Regions from separate parts of the Homo sapiens genome. Here region 1 is linked to region 2. Evidence: promoter capture Hi-C in human tissues and cell types (Jung and others, 2019). All regions are on one chromosome and are shown on one strand. Each heading gives the region's core, a stretch centred on a gene start or on the middle of the fragment in contact. The rest is flanking DNA. Distances are from core to core; before and after follow the strand shown. Region 1 overlaps SH3RF2 (SH3 domain containing ring finger 2). Region 2 holds the start of PRELID2 (PRELI domain containing 2).

What was found. The method cuts DNA at HindIII sites, captures the fragments that hold promoters and counts their contacts. A contact is called where the count stands out against the background at its distance.
Region 1: a contact is called between a fragment that was not itself captured here and the fragment with the promoter of PRELID2 in region 2, in 1 of the 25 tissues and cell types used here (heart left ventricle).

What each region holds. Positions count from the first base shown.
Region 1 is chr5:146,024,955-146,031,225 of GRCh38, reverse strand. All of the region lies in intron 5 of SH3RF2 (SH3 domain containing ring finger 2), which reads right to left. All of the region lies in intron 1 of LOC107986458 (a long non-coding RNA gene), which reads left to right. Among named protein-coding and RNA genes, the nearest start is that of PLAC8L1, 77 kb to the left of the region's middle. RefSeq lists enhancers at 2,374-3,573, 3,595-4,388, 4,389-5,184. The HindIII fragment of the contact is 4,562 bases long and covers 1,485-6,046 here.
Region 2 is chr5:145,834,092-145,840,083 of GRCh38, reverse strand. PRELID2 (PRELI domain containing 2) reads left to right here and starts at 4,742. Exons shown (of 7, transcript NM_205846.3): 1 at 4,742-4,907. The coding sequence starts at 4,833. RefSeq lists a silencer at 4,431-4,550. The HindIII fragment of the contact is 8,273 bases long and covers 1-5,992 here.

The sequences.
Region 1 (6,271 bases), core at 2,516-5,015, 190 kb before region 2:
AATTCCAAAACAAGGTGGGAAGTGACAGAATTCCAACCTGGGGGCATATGTCAATTGTTTGGAAGTGCAGATGGGATGGTGTCCTCCCAGGCATCCAGTGCTCCTTCTTCCCTACAGGGCCCAAAGTGACCAGGCACACACATTCTCACAAAGGCATTAGGGACCTCAGAAGTGGCTAGACCAGAGGAGGGTGTTTGCTTTTTAAAGGAAGAGGCCAATCTTTTAGCCCAGGGATCTGCAAACTCTCTAAAGGGCTAGAAAGTAAATCTTTCAGGCTTTGTGCAAGGTCTCTGTCACTACTGCCTAACTGTTTCCTTCTAGTGTGAAAGCAGCCATTGATGTTATGTAAAGAGTGAGCCTGGCTGAGTACCAATAAAACTTTATTTTTGGACAATGAAAATACAATTTTATATAATTTTCACAGCATGGAGTTTTATTCTTTTGATTTTCACCCCCCACCCCTGCCCCCCAATAAATTCAAAATCACATCTGTAAAAGCCATTCTTAACTTTCTGGCCATATGAAAACAGGCAGCAGGTGCATTTGGACCATAGGCTGTAATTTGCTAATTCTGTTATAGCTCAAAGAAATGAATGAACAGTGGATAATTTCCAGATGCCAATAGCAGAAATAGTTTAGGGGTTAGTCCTCCTAGTGACCTGGTTACTGCTTTCTCTACAGACGTAGACAGATGAGGGCCCAGCAAGCGCCTAATCCCGGGCACAGGGAATCAATTGGATTTTGAAAATACAGGATAGGTGTTCTCTGACCTCATCAGTGTCCTGCCTCCTTGAAACGAATGCAGACAAATGATTAAAGTAGTAAACTCTCTCCGTGCTCCAGTGTGTCTGGTTCAAATCTGTTTAGGGTTTGTCACCTGAGTATATGCTCCAGGCCTAGCAAAGAATAGGGCCTCAGTAAATCTTCACTGAATGAAACGACATGGGCACATGGGCACATGGTAGACACACCATATTTGTGAGCAGAAGCAAGGAAGCAGCAAGATTTCTCTCATCAGTACTGGCTCAGGTCAAGTCAAAGGCAGTGGGGGAAGGCACAAGGGCTCAGTTAGGCAGCTTGAGCAGCCCAGAGAGTAGGAAAGATTTGTTCTCATTTCTGACTCTGCCCTTTTTGTCCTCAGAGTTGCCCTATACTCAGCGTGAGAAAACAGGGCTTCCCTAGCTGAAGTGTCTTGGAAACAGACAAACTGGTGCTTGCAATATTCTTTGCATACGTAACCAGTTTTTATTTCGCATTTAGTTGTGCAATTTTCCATCAGGGCTTGATTGTTTTGGGATGGGAAGAGAGGGAGAAGAATGGATATTACATATCCCAAAGCTTGTGCATTGAGATACAATAAATGGTTTTTTTCTTTGATGAAAGAAAATGGTCAATTTTCTTGGAGTTTTCTCTTTATCTTTCTTTTGTTTTCTTTTCTTAACACACTGTCATTTATCAAAAATAAAGTTCCTGAGGCATTCACAGAGGGTTGTGATATAGGGGCCCATATCTTGTTTTTCTATGAAAACAATGGAAGAACATGCCCCTTTTGTGCCCTCTGTAGAAACTCTTCCTTAGGAAGAAGGCCTGATTTTCAGCTTATGTGCAGAGAAAGCAAATAGCACAGAAGCTTGTTTGCTGAACAAATCCAGATGTACCCCGAGCCCAGCATGGCCCCCAGGGAGTGCCCAATAGAATGATATGGAATCACCGAGTCTCAGATGATGGGCCTATGTGGGGATGGCAAACACACGGCACATGCACCCATTTCCTACTCCTGGGCCCGCAACAGACATGGATAATTGATCCCTTTATTCCTTCCCACTGAGTCTGGTTGCTGTCCCAGAATCTCTCCTCAATCATCTCTGGGGACAATTGAGTTAGCATGTGAGATGCCCCACTACTCCCACTGCTTGGGCAGGGAAAGAGCATGGGCCCGGAAGACAGCCAGACCTGGGTTCTGACAAAAACTCTGAAATGCACTTGCTAACTGAACTAGATACTTAGCCTCTCTGAGTCTCAGTTCCTCCATCTAAAATGGAAAGAAGTAACAACGATTAACAATACTCACAGAGGATGTAAGACTGTGGCACTGGGTCTGTCACAAAATGAGTTCCTTTTTTTCTTGGAGCTGAGTGGGAATGGAAAGTGGGCCTGAATTATGTATTTATTGTGCCTTTGTTTATTGTTGTGGGGGTATGTTTCTCTGCACAATTTGTTTTTCTTTTCACTACATATGTATGTTTCTCTGCACAATATGTTTTTCCAACAATCCACTCAACGCACAGGTCCTTTCAGCTTCTCCAGCTAGGAGCGCGTTCGTGTTTTGGCGCATTTCCAGGGACAGGGCACAGGCAAGTCTCCCCATCCTACCTGTGGGAAGTGTCAGGTTTCCCCAAAGCCCTTCTATTCTCCCATGTGTTTGAGAAGAGTGGTCTGCTGGGGCTATTCAGAAAGGGCATCTTTTTCACACAGCCCTTGACTTAACTGCCCTTTATTCTGCATTTACTACAAGCCAGACCCTGTGCTACATTCTGCACATCAGCTGTTCTCAGCGGGAGGCAACTTTGACCCTGCGGAACATTTGGTAATGTCTGTTGTTGCCACAGGTGGGTGGGTGGTGGTGGTGGGTGCTACAGGCATCAGTGGGTAGGGGCCGGGGATGCCGCTAAAAACCCCACAATGCCCAGGGCGGCCGCCGCAACAATGATCTTGCTCAAAATGCCAATAGTGCTGAGGCTGAGAAAGCCTTCTGTATGCGAGTATCTCATTCATCTCCTAACAGGTCTGTGTGGAAGACGCTATTAATTTTCCCATTTGAGATGGTGAAACTGAGGTCTTGCAAGGTTGAGCCACTTGGCTGAGGCCACTGCACCATCAAGGTCTGTCTGTGCCCACATGTCTATACTACCCTCTTTGTTCCCAGAATGCTACCCTGTTACATTGCTTTTCCCTTTCTTTTGCCCTTCTGTTTTATTTTGCTTCTCTTGTCTTCCTTTCTTGTTGAATTATCTCTGTGTGTGTGTGTGTGTGTGTGTGTGTGTGTGTGTGTGTGTGTGTGTTGCAGGCCTCATTGGCCTTGGATATCAATGTCCCCTGCTCCCAGCTCCCAGAGCTATAGTGTCTACATTAAAATGTCTGAGGTACAGGCTAGGCCGCTCCCTTTTCCACCCGGGCAGGGTTGGGTCGTCTCAGTGACTCACCTGCCAGGATTAATTGGGCAAAACGATGATGTAAAGTTTAACCTCTTGCTGGAGAAATGCTGAATCAAGGAAGTAAGCAATGTTAATTATCGAACCTGCTTTAGTCACCAGAAACCAGACCGAGGACCTCGGGGAGGTTGGGCAGGGCTGAGGATCTAAGTACTGCAGAAGTCACTGTGCCCCAGGAGTACTGGCGCTTTCTGGAGTGACCTCAGTAGAAAGGCAACTGGGCTGCAGCGCTAAGGAGAGGTGTGTGCAGAACCTCAGCTCGCTTCCTTTTTTCACCTGGCTGACTGCTATCAGCTTCCAGGTTTTCACCTGAAGATCACTTCTTCCAGGCAGGCTTCTCTGACTTTCTAGACTAGGTGGACCCTCCATTACATACTCCCTTCATCTCCCATAATTGAACCTCACTAGCACTTTGCACGCTTAATACCTTGTAATCAAGTATGTTAATAATTTGTTTAGTTTTTGTCTTCCCTGCTAGCTTGGAGGTTCCATGGCTGTAGCAACCATGTCTGTCTTGTTCACTGTATCACCTGTGCCCAGCTCAGTGCCTGGTGGGCATTCGACAACTCTGTTGACTGGTTCACTGACAGGCTGTGAGGGGCTTTGGCAACTAGGATTCACAATGGGCTTTGGACGCTTGCCAGGTGAGGACAGCATTCCCAGAAAAAACTGCGAGGTGTGTATAGGAAATGGTGGACAGATGACTGGCTCTGCCTCAGTCTCTATCTTTGACTTTTTTATCCAAAGTCTTTTTTTTCCTGCATTCATTTTTGGCTTCTCTCACATGGGTTCACACGGAATTACAGTATGAACTAAGCAAGTGCAATTGTCCCAAGAGTCACACTCCTTCCCTAATTCTGGAATTGTCACTGCTTATCAAGAAAGCAAAGGGGCTTTTGGAAGCCTTTGCACTTCAAAGCAGGCTCCAACAGATCATCTCTGAAGCATGTGGCTGATCAAGCTCATTCTCAGTAGGGCCTGTTTGTATAGGCTGGCCCTGGGGCAGTGGGGATGGGAGATGGTTTTAGCTTCCTGGCTTGACCCAATGATAATAATAACAACAGAGTGAACATTTATTGAGCCATTTACCACTCCTAAACCCTGGCCATTATCTCATGTATAAGCATTGCCTTGTTTTATCCTCGCAGCCATCTTATGAAAATTACCATCATTAGTCCCATTTTACAGATATAAAAACTGAGGCTCAGACGGAGTAAAGTATCTTGCCCAAGGTTATACTGTTTGGTAAGAAGCAGTGTGAGTTCCGTCCTAGATCTAGCTGACCCCAAAGCCCATATTTTTATTTCCTTACTATACTGCCTGTGCTGAGAAGCTCTTTGCCTCAGAGAATAGCTCTACCCAATACCTGCGGGGCCTGACAAAACTTTGCACCAGACAGAAAGAAAACAGGTCTGTTGTGTAAATGTGTGCTCCCGCAGAAGACAGGAAGAATCACAACAATAACCATGATTCATTAAATAATAGAAACAGCTCTTTCCCTGTGTTACCTATCTTCAGAGTGTGCTGTTAGCCAATTAACGCACATAATACTCTGCCAAGCCACTTTTGTCATTCCAATGAGAAAACTGGGACCCAGACAGGCAAAACCCTTTGTCCAGGGCTATACAGTTAACTGTGGGAGTGCTAGGATCACATTCTTTGAGGCCTCGCTCGTGATGTATCTATCACCTTTCTTGTGCAAATAAAGGTTACTGCCACCTGGGACTATGTGGCTCAAAGATGTTATATATTGTAGGGACTATTAGTTATATTTTAAATTATAATTCATGTGTTTATTTAATTTTTGGGGGAAGACCTTGAGTCTGTTAAGGAAGTACCTTTTCCTGCCAGTGTTTTACATATAAGAGGCAAGATCACCCCCTCCTCCATATCTGTTAGTAGTTGTGAAAAACTATACCTTAAAACATTCAGATTGGAATGATCATTTAGATTTTAAAACGTTTGGCCCATTCCCTGTGTTAATTCAGGGTTCTCCCCAGTCACACAAATGACAGATTCTAAAAGCTCCCCTTGGAGGAAAGAGGGGGAAGGTAATAGCAATGGCTGCAGCTTGAGTTATTGCTACCATTGCCAAGACCCTGCATGGAAGGAGTTATCCCAGTTTGCAGATGAGTACACTGAGGCTTATTGGGGTTAGATACTTAATTTCAATGTCATTTAGTTACCAGATGGCAAAGCCATGACAAGAAGCTTTGCCTGACTCAAAACCTTTTTGTTTGTACTAAGCTACCTTCCTCTGTAGAATAAATACAAACCAAACCAAACACAATAAAAACAACAACAGAATCCATAGATTCCACTTCAGCATTGGCAGTATTTAGTTTCCAGCAGTCTATGCGGTAGGAGAGATTTCTCATTGTACTTCCTTAAATCCTTCATGTTTTGATTTATGTTCCTTTTCTCTTCAGAACACAGGAAAATAAAACTGGTATAGAAATGCAAGTTTGGAAAAACAAAGTCATCATTCAACCCCACATCAATCTTTTCTTCTCCAAGCTGAACAAACTTGGGCCTCTTTCTCCTGATCTTGGCTCAAGTGTGGGAACCAGACCTCAGGAAGGCAAGGGAGGGAACATGTGGGCCAAGGAGGCCTGGACTGGGGGCCAGCCTACGGCAGTGGCAAGGATGTAAACAAGGCGACTGCACAGGCAGGCAGTAAGATTAGCCCAGCTGGCAGTGGCCAGTGGAAAAAGGGGTGGCTGTTCAGTGATGGCAAACATGCCATGCGGGAAGGTGGTGAGAAATGAATCTTGTCTTTGAGCTAGGGGAATGCCCAGGAACAAATGAGAGAGACAGAGAGAGAGGTTAAGAATATGAACTTTGGACTCCCCAATATATGCTGAGGGATTATGATGTGTAGGTGTGGAGATCAATAGTGAGATAAAGCTCACAGTGCTGTGTCTTACAAATAGCTCAATATTATGGAAGAATTGTGGCATAAAAAAATTCAGGAGTGACAGATTTGGAACACCATCATTTTGCAACCCCTAATGAAATAATGTTCAAACCACCCGGTAAAAGGCTAATGGGGACCCATT
Region 2 (5,992 bases), core at 3,493-5,992:
TACTATAGCAAAAGACTGTAGCAAGGGCTATGGGAGTTATCAGCCAGGAACCATGAATCTATATTTATACGTGGAGGAGTGGAGTTTAGTGAGGAGTGGGAGTTGGGGAGGAAATTTTACATATATATATGTAAAATATCATACCTCTTAATTGGTCTCTTTCTTTGCTTTGCCTCCCCATAGTCACTTCTCCAAACTGTAAGTAGCCAGAATGATTCTGTTAAAATATACAGTTGAGATCATGTCTCTCCTCTGCTCAAAACTCTCAATGGCCTCCCATCTCATACAGATAAAGCCAACATCTTTACCATGGCCTGGAGGACCCTATGTGACCTAGATTCATGTTTTCTGACCTTATATCTCAGGAACTCTGCAACAGCCATACTGGCCTCCTTGTAGCTCTGAAATGTATCAGGAGAATGCCTGTTTCAGGTCTTGGAACCTGCCATTCCTTCTACGTGGAATGATCCTCCTCCAAATACGAGCATGACTTGCCCTCCTCTTCTTGCAACTTTTCTACTTTAATGTCATTTTCTCAGAGAGGTCTTCCTTAGCTCTTTTAAAAAATTTTAACACTGCTCCTCTCTCCCCTGCCCTGCCATCACTTCTCATCCTTCTTCTCCAGTTTTTGTCTCCTTAGTACCCACGCTTACTTATCATACATGATATTTTACATATTTGAATCTATTCTGATACTTTGCTTTGTTTTCCTTGCAAATTCTCATTCTGTACCCTGGTTTCAATAACTATATCCCTGTTCCCTGCCTTGGCTTGTGTCTCTAGCTCACATCTCAAATGTCAGGTTGCTGGATTTTAGAGACAGTCTTGGCCCACTCAGTTTCTGCCCCTGCATTTCAGTTTTTGTTGACGGAAAAACTGAGCTGCAGGGGCAGGAAGGATTTTGTTCAAGGTCATATTTTATATTAAGTACATTCGTGAGTTTATTCAACATATACTAGGTGCCAAGCATTTTACTAGGCACTGGATAGAGAGGAGTGAATAATATATGCAGTTCCTCCAGTCTTGAGAATGTCACAGTAACAGTGATTTATATATACAGATAATTATAAGACTGGATACAAAAAATCAGTGATAGAGAGATGGTCAGGATGGTCAGAAGAGGGAATTGAACCAACATGAAGAAGGTGAGAAAAGCAGAGAGACAGGGTCAGGGCTGGAGTTCTGTGTCACTTAAATCTTGCAGCATTTACAATCATTCATTCATTCATTCATTCAACCTAAATGTATTGGATGTCTACCATGTTTAAACTATTGTGCCTCCCTGTGAAGATACAAAAGGTATTTGATATCTTATGAAAGTTCTTTAGTAAGATATTTGGTATCTTAAAGACCAAATAAGGTCATGAACTTCTAAGGTTTGCCAGCAAATTTCCACCCTCAAGTCCCTGCCCAGTTAAGCCAACCAATTTCAAAGCGATGGAAATTTGTTTCACAGTTTCTTCTCGCTCCCTCAGAGGACCCAGCAAGTAAGATTACTGTTGTGCAAACTGGCTGTGATTCAGAGCTACAAGATAATAGGCTCATGTTGTCAAGTCTGGCACACGTTTCAGAAAGCCCCAACGTCCTTGGAATGGGCAGGTCACATTTGTTCTTACACAAGTCACTCAGCCAACCAGCCCCAAGTAGAGGTTGCAGGTGGTGGGGCCTTTAATCTTTCAGGACACACCATTGGCCTTTCATGGTTACTTAATCCGGAGATTAAGTCCTGCTTAAAGATACACTCTGGGAGAAACTGATGGTCAGAGTGGATTGAGGATACAGGGCCCAGGACCTACGCTAGCAGGGGGTTTGTATGTCACATCTGGTCTCCAGCTACTCTGGTAAAAGAGGCAGATACAAAATACCATAAACTCTGCAGGTAATTGATCTCTCCTTTGTGGACCTGTGTAGTCTCCCTGGAAGACTGCTTTTTGTTTTCCTGTAAGGAGGGATTGGTGATATAGTGGAGTGGCTTTTAAACATGCATCCAACACATGTAAGAGCATTTGCATCTCATTCTCCTCTCCACTCCTCCCTCTGTATTTCAAGGAAATGCTGCTTACAGGCTTAGTAAGGTGGGGATTAAGAATTAATTATTGGATTTAGCAATTTGGTCATTGGTGACCTTGACAACAGTCGTTTCGGTGAAGTGGTGGGGGCAAATACTGATTGGAATGGGCTCAAGAGATTACAGGCAGCTCTTTTGAGGAGCATCAGTGGACCAGAGACTCGGAATACAGCTGGAGGAAGATAGGGGGTTAAGAGTTGTTTTTTTTGTATTGTTTCTGTTTTTGTTTTTAGATGGAAGAAATTACAGTGTACTTGTTGTGCTGGCTGGAATGGCCCAGTAGAGACAAAAGCTGATGATACAGAAAGGAAGGGGGATATTGCTAGAGAGATGGCCTTGAACAAGAAAGAGGACAGGAACTTTTAGTGATGTACTAGAGCTGGCCATTCAACACAGCTATTATTAAAGTATATAAATTTACAATCACATATAAAAATTAATAAATATTTATTTATTTGAGATGGGTCTCACTCTGTGGCCCAGGCTGGAGTGCATGGCACGATCATAGTTCACTACAGCCTTGAACTTCCGGATTTAATAGAGCCTCTGGCCTTAGCCTCTCAAGTAGCTAGGACTACAGGTGTGCACTGCCACACCTGGCTAATTTTTTATTTTATTTTTTGTAGAGATGGGGTTTCACTATGTTGCCTACACTGGCCTCAAACTCTTGGCCTCAAGTGATCCTTCTGCCTTGGCCTCCCAAAGTGCTGAGGTTACAGGCATGAACCATAGGAGCCTGGCCAAAGAGTAATAAACATTGAAAACTCATCCCTTCCTGCTACATTTTCCATTATTTATGTTTTTGGTTCTTTATGGCTGTCGTATGTGGGTGGTGGAAATACTATGTGATGGTGTGCTTCTGTGCTTCCCTCCCCAACTCCCACTCCTCACTCAACTCCATGTTGCTAAATCCCCAACTTGTGTTTAGTGACATCGAGTTGGCATCTTTAAACATGGTAGGAGTATTTACACCACAGGAATCAGCAACCTTTGGAAATCAGGGCCTTGCTTGATTTATACTTTAAAGGACAGCTATTTGTTAAACATTTTTCAGTTCACCTCAGGATTCAGTGGACAAATGGAGACACTGGTGCTAAAACAAAGTGCTGACAGTTCACCCACAGGAACAAGAGTGAAGGCAAGGCATTTGGTCTGGTGGGTAGAGAGGTGGCAGAGCGATGTGACCTATTGACTAAGTGAAAATGGAAGTAAGGTAATGACTGGAGTATAAGGCTGGGAACAAAGGTGTCAGAGGTGTGGAGGAATGCGGGAGAGTAAGTGGATTAGAGAAATTCAGTACTCTCTTTTTTTTTTTTTTTTGAGATGGAGTCTTGCTCTTGTCGCCTAGGCTGGAGTGCAATGGGCGAGCTCTGCTCACTGCAACCTCCGTCTCCCGGGTTCAAGCGATTCTCCTGCCTCAGCCTCCGGAGTAGCTGGGACTACAGGCGCCCGCCATCACGCCTGGCTAATTTTTGTATTTTTAGTAGGGACAGGGTTTCACCATGTTGGCCAGGCTGGTCTGGAACTCCGGACCTCAGGCGATCCGCCCACCTTGGCCTCCCAAAGTGCTGGGATTACAGGCGTGAGTCACCGCACCCAGCCAGAAATACAGTACTTTCATAGTGTATTTGTCTGGCACCATTAAAAGGCGCCATAGGGTTAGTGGTTATGAACTTAAAAGATGCACAGTGGGTGTGTATTTTCCTTCAGCCCCTTCTGGTGGCTTGGGTAGAGACAGTCAGAGGAGACCTAGATTTACACAAGGCTAGGGTTTTGCCAGACCAGTGTGACTGCGTATGGCAGGGGCGAGCGAGATGGCAAAATCGTAAAAGTCATCACCTCAGAGACCCTCCATAATCACCCTCACTAAAATCATGTCCGCGCCCGTGTCACTTTAACCGATTATTGTTTTTATTTTCCCAGCTTGTTGATTGGGTGTGAAATCAGCCGGCTCATCAGCAGAGCTGGTGTTTCCTCCCTGCGGAATCCGCAGTGCCCACTACAGCGCTGGGGCATAGGAGGCCTCAGAACCGTGCTGAATACACGGATTAACGTGCTGGTTCTCCTAACATCTGTTGGTTGCAGTAAATAATAATACTCGCAACTCTTTTGTATCCTCTAGTTCCTTGCTCCGTGGTGTTTAACCTTAGCGAGCAAAGGAACTTACCTGCAGGTTTTGGTGCACTAAAACGCGGTTCTTATTCCCGAGGCAATCTTTACCTTACACGAGGCCCAAACCCAAGCCTCAGAGGCAGCTGCCTGGTGGCATGAGTAATGCTGGCCTTTGTCACACCAGGCCTTCCTTATTAATACTTTTTTCCCGTGCTGCCAACCACGGCTTATTCTGTGACTCCAGGCGGTGATACCATAAACGCATAAGCCCAAGGTCCAGGTTTCCTGGGGCGGGGCGTGATGGCTCCCAGGCAGAGAAGCTTTTCTCGGCAGGCGCGGCCGCGGGAGGGCACCAGGGCCGCTCTGGCGCCGCCAGCGTGGAGACCGCGGGGCCCCGGGTGCTCTGGGAGCGCTCCAGCGCCTCCCGCGCTCTGTAACCCCAGGCCCCGGACTCTGGCAGTAGGGGCGTGGGCGTGGCCGACTGCGCGTTTCTCCGAGTGGCCAATAAAGTTTCGAAAGTTTGAAAAGCGGAGGAAAAAGGCCACGCCCATGTGGCTGTCCGAGTGTGGGCGCCTCCGGGCCTCTGCGGAGCCCTGGGCAGCTCTGAGCTCGCGGAGGCGTGGCCGGTGCGCGGGGCCCGCGGCGCGCGGGGATGGGGGTCTCGGTGGATGTGCACCAGGTGTACAAGTACCCCTTCGAGCAGGTGGTCGCCAGCTTTCTCCGAAAGGTACCGCCCCGCTTCCACCTTCCGTATCCCGCGCTGCCTCCGCTGCTTGCCCCTCTCTCCTCTCCTTCATCCACGCGGAAGCTGGCACCGCCAGTGTCTCTTTCCAGCTGCGGGCTTTGCTTCAGGGATGTGTGGGTCGAGAGGGATTTCCTCGAAGACTCCCTTTACAGGGAGCGGGAAAAGGGGCCGTGCTTGGCATCACGTTCACACCTGCCCCAGCTGAAAGAAGAGGCTTTCCTTTTAGGAAGAGCCTCCGGGAATCCCAGCTCGTGAGCTCCGTGGAGTTGCAGATGACCGACGTGTGGAGCTTTCCGGTTCATCACTGACCCCTTAAAAGCGAGGGGAGGCCATTGGGCAGTCATCCTGGTTTACTCAGCATGATGGTTCTGCTGCCCCATCCGCTGCTCCTTATTAAACAGCTGTGGGACATCGTGCAGGTTGCTTACTCTCTTTGTGCCTTAGTTTGCTAATCTGTAAAATGGGGAAAATAATAGTACCGACTCATAGAGTTGTTGTGAGGATCCAAATGAGGTAACTTGTGTAAAGTGCTTAGCACAGTTGTGACCTAAATGAAGAAACTGAGGCAAAATCAATATAAAAAGAGAGTTCATTCGAGCCAAGTTTGAGGGCTGCATCCTGGGAGTGAAGGTGCCCTGAGTATACATTCTGATGAGCAGAAGTCGAAAGTGGGTTTTTAAAGGAGAATAAGAAGCACTTCCTAAGTTGTTTACCAAGAATTTATATTAAAATAACATAAACTATTGATTGTCTGTACATTGTTCTTTGTATCACAAATTCCAGGAACTTGAAGATAATGGGTAAGGCAGCTGGTCAGGAACAAAATGCCTTTAACCAGTTGCTCCCAGGAATGGGTTGGGTGAGGAGGGGACCACTAAAGTCCTATACTCTTGTCTCTCTGGGCTTGATTGATTTTGCATATTTCACTGTAACTCACACAATCTGCTCTGAGCTATTTTTCTTTTTCTCACTGCTACTGATGTTTAGTTAGGGCTCTAAAATGTTATTGTTGTTTGTATTACTACAACCGATTTCAATACAGATAATGAACTCTTCCTCAATACTGA